Linked DNA regions of Homo sapiens: region 1 is linked to region 2. The links are contacts of gene promoters, found by promoter capture Hi-C in blood cells and fetal thymus (Javierre and others, 2016). All regions are on one chromosome and are shown on one strand. The core of a region is centred on a gene start or on the middle of the fragment in contact, and the rest is flanking DNA. Distances in the headings are between cores, read along the strand shown.

Region 1 (6,494 bases), core at 684-3,183, 460 kb after region 2:
TCAGACAGGAGCCACTGTCAAACCTTGGCCCATCAGAAGAGAGCAGATGTGGCAGAGGGAGATATACATCCTCATCTTTTTCCCTTCCTTCCCTCTGATTTCTTGCCAGTGCCTGCTCCTGGCTTAACATAGGAGAAAGCCAGGTGTTAAGAGAGCTTGGGTGTCTTAACAGAGCAGTCTAGAGAGGTCTCCTGGTGTACAGAGAAGAGTGGATGAGACAAATTTTAACTATGGGAAGCAAAACCTAAAATATGCCCATAAAACCCCTAAAAAATGCCACAGTTCTTTACATGAAGACCAGGTCCAAGGACTAAAATAATTTAGGGGAAAAATAAAATATTTGGAAAACTCCTTCTTTGATTATTTGCAACCCAGAAGTATTTTTACATCTATGTTGTCAGGTTAAGAATGTCCTGTCCCTCCAAGACAGAGAAATCATCCAAGTGTTGGCATCCGAATCTAGCACTGCTTCTTACAAAGTTATTTAACCATCAGTTTTACAATGCTTAGTATGTGGCAGGTACTGCTCTAAAAATTTTTTAAATATTGACTTATTTAATTTAATCCTCATACAGTGATGTGAACTAGGTTCTATTCTCATCATCCCCATTGAGTACACGAGGACACCAAGACTCAAAGAGGTAAAGTCGCTTTCCCTAGCCCACATAGACAACAGATGGTGGAGCTACCATCTGAACCCAGATTCTTGGGCTGCAGTGTCTGTGTTCCTAGCCATTATAATGTGCCACACCCTTATGGGGGACTTGTTGCATGACCACAAGCACATATAAATTTTAAACGGTAACTATGTCAACAGATCAAAAGGAATGATTTTTCTTAGATGAATTTTTACAACCCTCTTAACTGCGTTCATTTACTTTTAAGACCTTTAAAGAAGAAATGCATTTTCTACTCAAAATCAAACTAACTACAAAAAATATTTAGGATAATTTTGGTGTAAGTACACATAGGTTGGCGTGCTATTTGTCAGAGCTAGAAATTTAGAGGTATATTAGAGGATTAAGCATGATTAGATGCAGAATTATGGCAGCTATTTATGTGAGCAAATTCAGCATTTACACCATCAATCCCAAGGACTCAGAATATGTTTTGCCTATGGAAACACTATTTTAAATTGATAATTCATTTCATTTCACAAGAAAGAAAATGTGCACTTTGTCAGATGACAATTCTTTGAAAAACATAATTTTTAAAGGCTGCAATGACATTTTATAGAAATACTGTTTTAGCATAAATTAGTTTCATTTTCAGACTATATATTCTTTTTCTACATGCTTTTGTCTAATGAAATAATTTCCTCCTTGATTTCAGCTAAAATAACATAAATATTAAAATGAAGATTAACTTTGTGATAAAAAGGTCTGTATCTCTGAAAATTTTCCAGATAAGAATTGTGAAATGATAGATTTTAATAACCTATAGCATAGGAATTTTCCCAGTTTTAATACTGGTGAATATTTGGCAATGTGGACAATTAGCCATTTGAATGACATGACTATGATTAATGTACTACTCTTGTTTTTAAAATGTGTAGTAAATTTGATTTTTAGGAAGCTTAGATTTCTGGTAAATATTTAAATATTGTGCATAAGCAGGTATTTGCAGACAATCAATTTAACAACTGAATTTGACCATATTATACTGTTATCTATAACAAACAGAAATGATTTAATGTCATATTAATAAAACTTAAAGCCTCCCTAGTTATGTATGTTATATGAAATTTTCAAAGTATCTTAAATTTCCTGAGGCATTTGAAAGTGGAAATTCTAAAATGCATGTTTTTCCATGTTCCAATTTTAGGGCAAAGTAGAATCCTGCACTTTCAACAGATGTTGATGTCTTAGTCCATTACACTGCTATAAAGAACTACCCGAGACTCGGTAGTTTATGAAGACAGGAGGGTTAATTGACTCACAGTTCCACAGGCTTAACAAGAAGCATGGCTGGGAGGCCTTAGGAAACTTACAATCATGGCAGAAGGCTGAGGGGAAGCAAGCACATCTTCACATGGCAGCAGGAGAGAGAGAGAGAGCATGAAGGGGGAGTGCTACACGCTTTCAAACAACCCCATTTTGTGAGAACTCTATCACGAGACAGCACAAGGGGGATGGTTCAAAACCATTAGAAAAACACCTTCATGATCCATTCACCTCCCACCAGGCCCTCCAACACTCAGGATCACAGTTTGACATGAGATTTGGGTGGGAACAGAGCCAAACCATATCATTTGACTAGACAAGATGAATAAAAATTGGAGCATAAGCTTTACCAGATTCAGAGCTTTGTTTATTGTAAACACAACTGCTTAGTGCTCTGACAATACTCTTTGAACTTTTAAAGTCATGCATATCTTGTATTATTAAAATTAAAAAATTTTCTTTTGGGAAAACTCTGAAGATAAAAGTAAATATTTTCTGTTTGGTTTTTGTGTCACCAAATTAAAAAAGAATTGATTGTTAATATTTCTACATGATTTAACTTGGATCTCACATTTTGGAGCATGTTATTTCAGACATTATTTCTTCATTAAGAGACTCATATACATGTTTTACTGGTTTTTGATTTCTCAGTTTTAATTTTATAATCTGCAAATTTTGAGTAGCCACACATTTTTGAAAACTGTAAATTTGAACAACCTTTACTTCAGGTACAAGGTCATCTTAAATCGACATACTCAGAAGATAAAATGTATGTTACAAGGAAGCAACAATTCGTCAATACATCCCAACATTCAGGAAAAGCAATAGATAATGGAAAACCATTTTGAAGCAATTACCTCACTGATGAGGATAATCATAAAATGAACTGATTTGTTATAATGAGTATCATGTTCTGAGAGAAATATCGCATACTAAGACAATATCCTGGAAGAAATATTCTATTTCTGAACTTGCTCACTTGGCACATTAGACTATGTCTTTAACCATCAGATAAATTCTTCCCAATCTCTGCAATCTTTTTATATAAAGAGAGGACTTCTTTACATAAAATTTGTGTAAAGAATAGCAATGATATTCTGCAAAAGACTGAATACACATGCTTTATCAGAAAATGTATTTGGTTTTAGCTTAATATCAAAAATTATATACAACTTTTTATAGGGTTCCAATATAAACTGAATTTTTCCTCACTGATGATCTGGGGAAAACCTTTAGTGAGAACTAAGAGATGTCAGCAATGTGTTATGTATGTCTCCCCAACCCTCCTTCCTTGGTTGTGGTGGAATATTAAAGCATTCTCATGGCCCCTTTGCAACTGAGTCTAGTCAGAAACATAGAATTTACTTTAACTCAGTAAAACCCAGCAACCAACACCTATCAGCTAGAATGACCCCATCATGCATCATTTAGCATATATATGTTAACCTAGGCATTGTGTCAGACACTGGAGATTTAATAGTAAAAAAAAACTACCCACATAGGAATGGTGCCTGTCCTTATGGAGATGACCAACTGGTGGAATATAGAGTTACAAATCAGAGAGCTAATTATGATACACTGTTTCAAGGATTGTAGTAGAAATAATATGACTTATCATGGGTACAGAGAAAAGAGACACTGATCTCTTCTGAGGGGATGTGAGAGAGTATTTAGTTGAGGTTATAGCCCATGTCACAGCTTAGAGAATGAAGATAGAGTCTGAGAAGGAGAGAGCTTGTTTGTAAGACTACATTGCTGACATAGTGCAGAGAACTGAACACAAAAGCCTAGAGTAGGGAATAGAAATAGGTTAGCTGGAGAGTTAAGCTAGGGCCACATAAATAAATAAGAAAAATTTTAGGGTGATTTAAGAAGTTAGACTTCATCCTAAGAATCATGGAAAACCATGAGAAGATTTTTAAGTATGCTAGAATGAGACCTGAGTTTTGTGGAGAATTAGTGAGAAGAGTAGAAGATTGAAAAGGAAACCACATTAGAACATTGAAGCACTGATGAAGATGATAGAAAATGGCGATCTAATACAAGGCTGAAGGTACTGGAGTTGAGGAAAAGTCAAGAGATTCATGAAATATTTAGAGAATAAAGTTAACAGGACTCAGTGATTAACTGGATATACAAAGGGAGGAGGTTAGAGTGTTCAGTCTTCTTGACTTGGAAAACTGGGTAAATGTCGACATAATTTGCTGGGATAGGCTACAGTAGGATGAAGAAACAATTTGGGAAAAGAAGATGAACTTCGTTTTCGATAGACTGATTTGGAGGTACCTATAGGTTAGCCTAGAAAAGATAACTAATTGGCAGTGGGCAATACAGGTCTAAAGTTTATCAGAAAAAGTTGGTTTGGAACCATACACCTGGTGTTTATCCCTAGAGATGGCTATGGAAGTCATTGAAATGAATCAGGTAATTTTGTTTCTGAGAGTATTTTAAGAAAAGAGAAAATGGAAGAATCTCAAATAAACACATTCAAGGGAATTCATGAAAATTCTTTAGAAAATTTGACACAATGGGTCAACTATGTCTTCTGACTACATAAATGAAGACATTTTTATCTGGAGTGTGCATACTAGTAGGTTCAAGCCTTAAACAACTTCAGACACCTATATAATCTGTACTATGTTGAATTCTTACTCTAACAGAAATACCAGTCATTGGTCTCTAATGGAAAAAAAAATCTTAACAATGTGACACCCACTAAAAATGGAAGCAATCCATAGGACATCTAAAACCTAGCTAAAATAAATTCATAGTTTCCAAGGCTTATAAGTGGAAAAAAAAACTTTATTGCAGCAGTAAAATGAGTCTCCAACACTCATCACTCTAGCAACCTGCAGATGCGTAGTGGGAACATAGCCAAGGAAAGATAGAAAGAGTCTGCTTGCCAACAGAACTTTCATCTTCAATTCAGATAGTTGATCTTAGAAGTGTCATCTTACCTTTTATACGCTCTCAGCATTTTAAGTCATTGATACCTGTGCATTAGCATTAAAATGTTTCCACATAGATCCAGCTGAGTCCTCACTCATATCCTGTGTCCACTAATGATGCAGTGCAATTACACAAGTTCTACAGAGGACATTAAAGCAATCCTTAAATTTTAGCAAATATAAAAATTATCTTGAAAGTTTACTAAAATGCAATGTTGCAAACCCTAATCTACACTTCCTGATGTAAGATGTCTTGCTAGTAGGACCCAGGTTTTTATATTGTTTAAATAGCACCCCAGTAGATTCTAACAGAGGTGGTCCACAAGCTACATTTTGAAAACCTCTAAAGTAAGAGAGAGTTGAAAGTCAAGTATTCAGGTTCCTGAGGGGTGCAGTTGTTTAATTGATGAGGAAACATAGATATCTCTAATAATGCTTAATCTTATGGAACCAAGGGAAAAAATAATAGACAAACAGGTTTAAATCTCAATTCATTCAGCTTACATAGTCATTCGATACAGATTTCCCAATTCTGAGTGAAATTCTCCTCACACAGTCAGTAGGAATTTAGTCAGCCCCATTAGAGTAGATGTAAGAAACATAAAAGGAAAGGGTGCCACACGTATATGGCTATCCAGGTAGCACATTGATTCTCTCAATTATCTGTTGTTTACTACCATTCAATTTATCTCCAAAATAACCTGTTATTAAAAACCACAGACCTAATAAATAGTTTGACTAAATGTGTCCCACATGCATGGAGAAGACCATAAGAAATCTGCCAGCAAATGAGATCCCTTCTGCATAAATGGATTGTGTATGTCTGTAGTCTGCAAATTTACATTAAAACAGGAATACAAATGTGACTTCCAGAAAACACCTATGAGCAAAAATTATTCCTGACAGGAAGCAGGGATTGGTTTGACCCTCTAATTAGTTTATATTTCATCAATTCTAAATTGATTTTCCAGAAGTAAACTCTCCCTAAGATCTGAATTTGTTAATCTGACTAACTGCTTAAAATAGCCAAAATATAATTTCTGTTCTATAACCTCAGGCCCTGTCAAACCTATCTTTTCTTGAATATTCTTCATCTTCTCTATAATATCTCTATTCACCCACTGCTCAAGCCCAAAATCTTATATTTCATTCTATGTTTCTCTATTTTCTCACCTCCCAAATCAAATCCATCAAGAAGTGATTTTGGTTACACTTACAAAACGCATCCTGAATGTCCCCATCCATGGTGTGGTCTGATCTGAGCCATCATCATCCCTCAACTAGAATCTCATGAAAGTCTTCTAGTGTCATCTAATGGATCTTCAATGTCATCCCATGGTAATTTGAAAAAGTTAACCACAACTCTTTTCACAACTGACCAAAGCTACTTGCTAGCATCTCCATTAACTTTCTTTCTGGCTCAGACAAGTGGCTTTGTGCATATTGAGAGCAAGGTTCTTGAAACAGACTGCCCAGGCTTGCATCTTGGCTTTACCACTTTCTAGTTTGCACGAGTTAATGAACCTTCCTGTGCCTTACCTGAAAATAAAGGATAAAATGCTACACACTTCACAGGGTGTTTGACAATGCTTTTTATTGTTGA
Region 2 (6,609 bases), core at 118-2,617:
ACTTCAGCATTAACTAGACATGAGACGATTTCTCTGTTTTGCCTCAGTTTCCATATTTATACAAACAGAGAAAGTAATACTTGGCTGGCATTTTTCAGAGTGCTTCTGTGAGGACGTATTGAAATAATCAATGTGAGGCACGTTACGTTATTTAAACATTATACAAATAAAAGTTAATCTCCCGAATTTATCTAAAAATTAAAAGGAAAATATTTAAATACAGTAAGATAAGTTGGAAAAATTTCAGCACATTTTATTTGTAGCAAAGTTGGCCCTCATTCTTCCACACCAAAAATAATGGGGGAGAGAAGAATCAGGAAATGACTACTTATGAAACGAGAACCCAAGACTTGGGGAAAGATTGTTTCCTAGCGATTGAGGCATGCAAGTTACATTTTATAGCCGCATTGGTAAAAGAAGGATGGGCTTTGCCTCCACGCTTGGTGATATCATGAGGGTTTAACTTTCCTTTAAATAGAGGTGGGATAATACAAAGTAGCTCAGCAACAGTACCTGGTGAAAGAGACTGGCACATCTAAAACTAGGAGAAAGGGGAAAATTAGAGCAAACGTGGTTACCTATTTTCTAGTCTCTTCTTTCTTCTACATGTCTTCCCAATTCTTTCACAAACTGTGACTAATGAATCATATTGTTTTTGGTTTTTAAATTCAGCCCCTCCCAACCTCCCTTCCACAGATAGGGTCTGGGGAAAGGAGGCACGGATAGGTTACCAGAACTAATTCAATATCCTAATGATTGTACACCTCAATCATGTCTCTGCACAATATTTCTTCGAGCCGCTTTATTTGTTTATCAATGAACATCCTACTGCGTCCCTGAGATGTAGGTCATCGGAAATACCAGCTGCCGATCACATGCAGTCTTCATTGTATTTCCAGACCCAGTGCGCTGCTGATTCCTGCACAACTGGAGTGCGCCTGAGCTGTGTGAGGGAAAGGAGACACCTGTGCCTTAGGGACGCAGGTGAAGTCCCATCTACCTTCCTGAGACTTTCCCTGGCGCTTTTCCACCCTCTCGGGTGGCTCACTTCTCATCTCCATCTCCCCTGTCCACTTGTACTCAGACCTCTCTCTTTAACCTGCGCTTTTCCCGCGCTCTCTCTCCTCTGCGCCTTAGCTGAAGACACAGAGAACTCCACAAAACTGGGCATGCCTAATAGCCAGGGAAGGCTTGGGCGCAAGAAGAAAGCGTTTGCATCTTCCGAGCTCCCTTCCCCTCTGCAGCTGCCTCCTGCCAGTCAGGCCACCCGACTTGCGCTACCGCCCAATGAGAGCCCGCGGCCTTCTGCCAGCGCCCCGCCTCTCCTGGCACCACCACCAATGAGTGGTTGGCGGAGGTGGGCCGCGTCCTGTTCCCGCCTCTCCAGTTAAGGCCGCTGGTGTGAGCCGGGGCTCTGCGCGAGCGAGGGACGACGGAAGGGACGGGCAGGTGTGGGCGCGGGGCCACGCAGCCCGACGGCGGGAGTCGCAGGTGCTGGGTGCATGGGCCAGTGAGGACGCACAGAGATCCCTCGCCGCGCGGAGGAGGAGCAGCGCGGGAGCCAGGCGCTGCCCCAAGACCCTGCCTGCGTCCGAGCGAGCGGAACCTCGCGCTTCGCCCGGGGACAATCCGAAGTCCGCGCTATGGAAGAGGAGAAATATTTGCCTGAGCTGATGGCAGAGAAAGATAGCCTGGATCCATCTTTTGTGCATGCGTCGCGCCTTTTGGCAGAAGGTAGGACTTGCCCCCACAGATGGGCACAAACCGCCGGCTGCCTATCTCACCCGCGGCTTGATTAGGGGAGTGAAGTTGGGGAGGGACTCCTCTCCCCGCCTTCGCAGAAACTGTCCCCCTGAAGATGCTCGCCTTAGAGCTCGGGCGGACAGACCCCGTTCTTGGGGCGGACAGCAGTGCTCCTTCTCCACGTCTTAATTTGGAGAAGACCAAAGCTACGGAGATCTAATGGCAGTGGCGATGTGACCTGTTAGGATCATTGATAGAGAAACCATAAAGTGTATGTAACGCGGTCTACAGGGACATTTTCACTTCGCAGAGGGAAGGGAAAGCAGTTTGGAAGTAAATGGTGATCAATGTAGTGTTCTAAGAGCTTCGTAGCTACAGATCGGTATTTTTATTTTTATTTTTTGCTGCATTTAGGAAGTGATTTTTGATACCCTTTAATCAAAGTCTATCCTATGGAAAGTGTTAGAATTAACCTATGCATTAAACTATGCATGTTCTTATATGTATGTTAATGTGGTAAGTAAAGGCTAAAGTGCTTATACATTTATTTGAAGTGTGATGATTGGGTACTCTGTGAGATATTGGTCCCTGGGAACACTCTATAATTGATCAACTGTTTTACCAAGTGTGCATTTTCTTTTGTGTACCTGTAATGTTAAAGGGGATTTCATTCCTAGAGGAACACATATGTCTTGTTTTTTGCATTGCTTTGAAAGGTTTTTTTTTGAAAAAAGACACATGAACTTTATTAACCGAATTACTCCATTTATGTTATAATAATGCCATCTAAATACTAAAGACACCTATGGTATCTGTAGTTACTTACCCATGCCTTTTTAAAACATCTGCAGATTTTTTTTAGATGAATGCTTCATTAATAATGAATTGCTTCATCATCAAATTGGTTACAATGCAGTTTTGTAGCTAAGTTTGTTATGGACTTACATACAGCAAAAAACTAAAACGGATAACTTCCTCTACCCAAGCTCCTCAGTATTAAAAGATTTTTTTGAGACTTAGTTGTACCAAGGAAGAATAAATTCTGCTCCTCAATATATGATTTAAATAGGCATTAGCTATATTTTTTAATTTATGAATTGTTATTTATATTAACAATGAAGTGTAAGGTATTTTTCTATGTTTAAATACTAAACAATTAGGAAAAGATTTATATTCAAAACATGGAACATGTGAAATAACTAAACTGTTTTCAGGGAAAAAGCTAGTTTTATAGATAAGTGGGAAGGTGAAATACAATTATGCCTACTACTTTCTTGGTTACTGAATGAAAAAAAATATAAATTAAAGTGGAAAAGTAAAGTCAATAAAAACGAACTTTTTTTACTTTCCCAAAAAAGACAACTACATAAAAATAATAGCAAAATAATGTGTTAATAGATGTTTAAGATTGTTTGAAATGATTTAAAAGGCAAGTCTTACCAGTCTTCAGTATCTTTAATATATTTTGAATAGTCTTCAATATATTTTCCAGAATTTTCTTTATGTAGCTTATAATATGTCTTTAAAGTGAAAAAAAAGTTACAAATTGATCATTCTCTCTGACCCGCTAATTGGAGTTCTATTTGAGACAAGTGGCTCAAAGATTAATTCATCAGTCATTAATATGAGTTATTGTACTTGAAGACGGCCAAGCTAAATAAATGCATACAAGAAACTCTTAACAGAGTGCATAAGTATTTCTGTGGCTGGTAAAACAGTCAGAGAATGCACTTGGTTCCTTAACATTTTATCTTTCCTAGGAACTTGATTTCTTGATATAATACTTAGGAACATGTTCTGATGTACCTTGTAATTTGATTTTTTCCCAGCAGGGGGAAGCATGCCCTGCTTTTGTAAAGAATTAGAAGGAAAAGCTCCTAAATAGAGAAAAACATCTAAGTAAGAAACAAAGAGGTTACCCAAATTTCAGAGAAATCAGAATGAGGAAAAGAGAATGGAGGAGGTTATAATAATCTTGGAGTACCTAAAGAGTTATGCAAAAGGGTGCATAGGTTTTATATTAGCTCTCTGTACCTGGGGCTCTTTACATGTGCTAATTAAAGAGTGTAAGATGATTGTTCTTGGAATCTCAATAATCTTAATGTATATTTTATGGTATAGATCTTTCATTATCTTTCCAAAGGCCAGTTGCCAAGATGTCCACGCTTAGTTTCAGATCTCTATAGAAGAGTATGGTTGAGATTATTTTATTTCTCATACCTGAGAATGCACTGATTGAAGGGAGTGGCTGTAAATAAACCTGACATAGATATTCATTTGGAAAGAAGGTGCAAAGTACATTTCAGTCAGTACTGTGCAGACAGTGTCAAGCCTGAGTGAGTAGTAAAAATGATACAGATGATTCAGTTCTTCAGAATGATTTTCCGGAAGCTAATATATATAAAGGCAGTAGTATAAACCAATGAGATTTCACAATGATTTATTTTGCATTTTGATTGGTGATACAGGCAAATCAGTGCTCAATTGACAGTGCTTCATGTAGAATTGAAGGCTGTGGGGTTGAAAGTACTAGTTGGATGTTTATTTGGGGTTTTTGGGGGGTCCATTGTAGTTTGTTTTATTTCACTTGTTTGTGCTGTGTGTTTTCAATGAGAATGATTTCAGTTGATTGTTACTCAGAAGAGTTCTTGAATAATGTAGTTTGAAGTTTGTTTATAATATGCTTAAATAATTAAAATAATGTTCATCCTGCGATTATAATGTTGTTTAGTTATCCACTTGTTATGGTAGGTGCTTTTGAATATGATAAAACAGCAAACTCAGGACTATCCTTAAAGTTCTACTCAGTGTCTGAATTTGGTTGCCAGATGAAATTACATAAGTTTATTTATATCTTTTCTGCTTCTGGGAAGTGCATTAAACTGTGAATCTAGATACCTAGATTTGAATTCCACTTTAACCTCAACTGAATCTGGGTAAGCTTTCTTTCCCTGGGCCCAGTTTCCTTGTCTCTCAAATTAAGGAGTTGGACTAAGTGATGTATATGTTTTTTTGCAATTCTAATTAAGTCTCAGGCTACTGATGATACAACGAAGTGATGTTTGTATATTCGGAACAAAAATTCAATGGCTGCACATTTTTGAAACTTTTTTCATTCTTTCCTAGTTTAATGATTAATAATATATTTATGGCACTAAAATGTAATTTGAGGCATATACTTTATTTTGGGTACTGGGGACAGATTTATGTTCTTAAGTCTATTGAACTACTATTAATGTTTGAGGCCAAAAATGTATATACATGAAAATATTATCTGGAAATATTCTGTGTCTGCTGACAGACATAGATCTGTTCAGATTTATATATTCAGTTATGGTGATTCCATACTCCTAGGAGCATTATAAATTTTTGTCCAATTAAGAGAGGTTTGGGGAAGATTTTCTAGCCTGAAATCTTTGCAAGCACTGAAATAATCATAACCATTTTGGTTGACTCATTATATGACGATGTCAAATATTGCCAAATATTCCAGCAGTTCGAATGGTTTTCAAAAAACTGTAGGCGCTATTTTCAAACTTTAGTAAAAAGTTTGACCTGCCATCTAGACTTGGCCTTTATTTCTGCAGATATAAATGAGATCTTAAAAATATTAAGAAAAGAGGGATTAATACTTACCACACATGCAAACTTGTGAGTTAACTACATTTAGATTATCAATAAGAACCATTTTTTAGTTAGATCGTGTTTCTTAAATATTTTTCATAAAGCTTGATAAGTTTTTTAATTAAGGAAAGTTATTAGTGTCATGTCTAAAACAGCTTCTGGTTAAAAAATAGTGTTCCTGTGACTCTTTAAAGTGACTTTTCTTTTGATTAACGTAATCACCTTTTTCTCCCAATAGACTTGGGATAATCTTATGTTTCTTAAATACAAAACAAACATGGGCAAAAAATTAAATTCAAGTTATCTTTGATCTTCAATTAAGACAATTTATGATATAGTGGAAAATTTCTACTTTGACAAGAAAAACACTTGGGAGTGATTATTGACACTTCTACCTACTGGGAAATAAAGGATGTGTCATTTTTTTTCCACCTCTCTGATACTCAGTTTCTTCATCTATATAACAGGAAAAGTGATACCTACCAGGCAGGGTTCTTTTAAGATGAAAAAACAAAAACAAAAACAAACAAACAAAAAACAACTTCTGCTTGTGATGCTTGTGATAACATAAGCCGTATTTTAAAAATTTATTTTATTTTATTTTTGAGACAGAGCCTTGCGCTGTTGCCCAGGTTAGAGTGAAGTGGTGCGATTTTGGCTCACTGCAACCTCTGCCTCCTGGGTTCAAGCAATTCTCCTGCCTCAGCCTCCCAAGTAGCTGGGATTACAGGTGCGTGCCACCACACCCGGCTAATTTTTGTATTTTTAGTAGAGACTGGATTTCACCATGTTGGCCAGGCTGGTCTCAAACTCCGAATTTTGTGATTGACCTGCCTCATCCTCCCAAAGTGCTAGGATTACAGGCATGAACCACTGTGCCCGGCCAATAATTTTTATGTGTATAACAAAAATATAAGCAGAAATTAAACAAACATAACATGATGATGCACCTCAATTTGAGAAAATAAGTAAAATAAACACTGCCTTACTTTAGATTACTGCTGAGTTACATTTGAACTCATAAAGCAAATTATGAAATAAATTACCTTATGAAAAAGGATTAGATTGAGGGTTTTAAAAATATCATGTTTAGTAAATGATCACTTGTCAGTCTTTAACCATGGGCTTGATTAGCCCTGGTCCTATTTATTTCAAGAGTAATTTCAGACCTATTCAGGCTTCATCTTAAACCCACATGTTCTTCACTCTCAGCAGGTGATTTCATCATCTGTTTTATTGGAG

The links. The method cuts DNA at HindIII sites, captures the fragments that hold promoters and counts their contacts. A CHiCAGO score of 5 or more calls a contact.
Region 1: a contact is called between a fragment that was not itself captured here and the fragment with the promoter of KHDRBS2 in region 2, in 2 of 17 cell types (erythroblasts and naive B cells). The highest score is 6.1, in erythroblasts.

What each region holds. Positions count from the first base shown.
Region 1 is chr6:61,819,934-61,826,427 of GRCh38, reverse strand. All of the region lies in intron 6 of KHDRBS2 (KH RNA binding domain containing, signal transduction associated 2), which reads left to right. Among named protein-coding and RNA genes, the nearest start is that of KHDRBS2, 460 kb to the left of the region's middle. The HindIII fragment of the contact is 712 bases long and covers 1,578-2,289 here.
Region 2 is chr6:62,280,983-62,287,591 of GRCh38, reverse strand. KHDRBS2 (KH RNA binding domain containing, signal transduction associated 2) reads left to right here and starts at 1,367. Exons shown (of 9, transcript NM_152688.4): 1 at 1,367-1,734. The coding sequence starts at 1,644. RefSeq lists a silencer at 1,418-1,507. The HindIII fragment of the contact is 7,395 bases long and covers 1-4,686 here.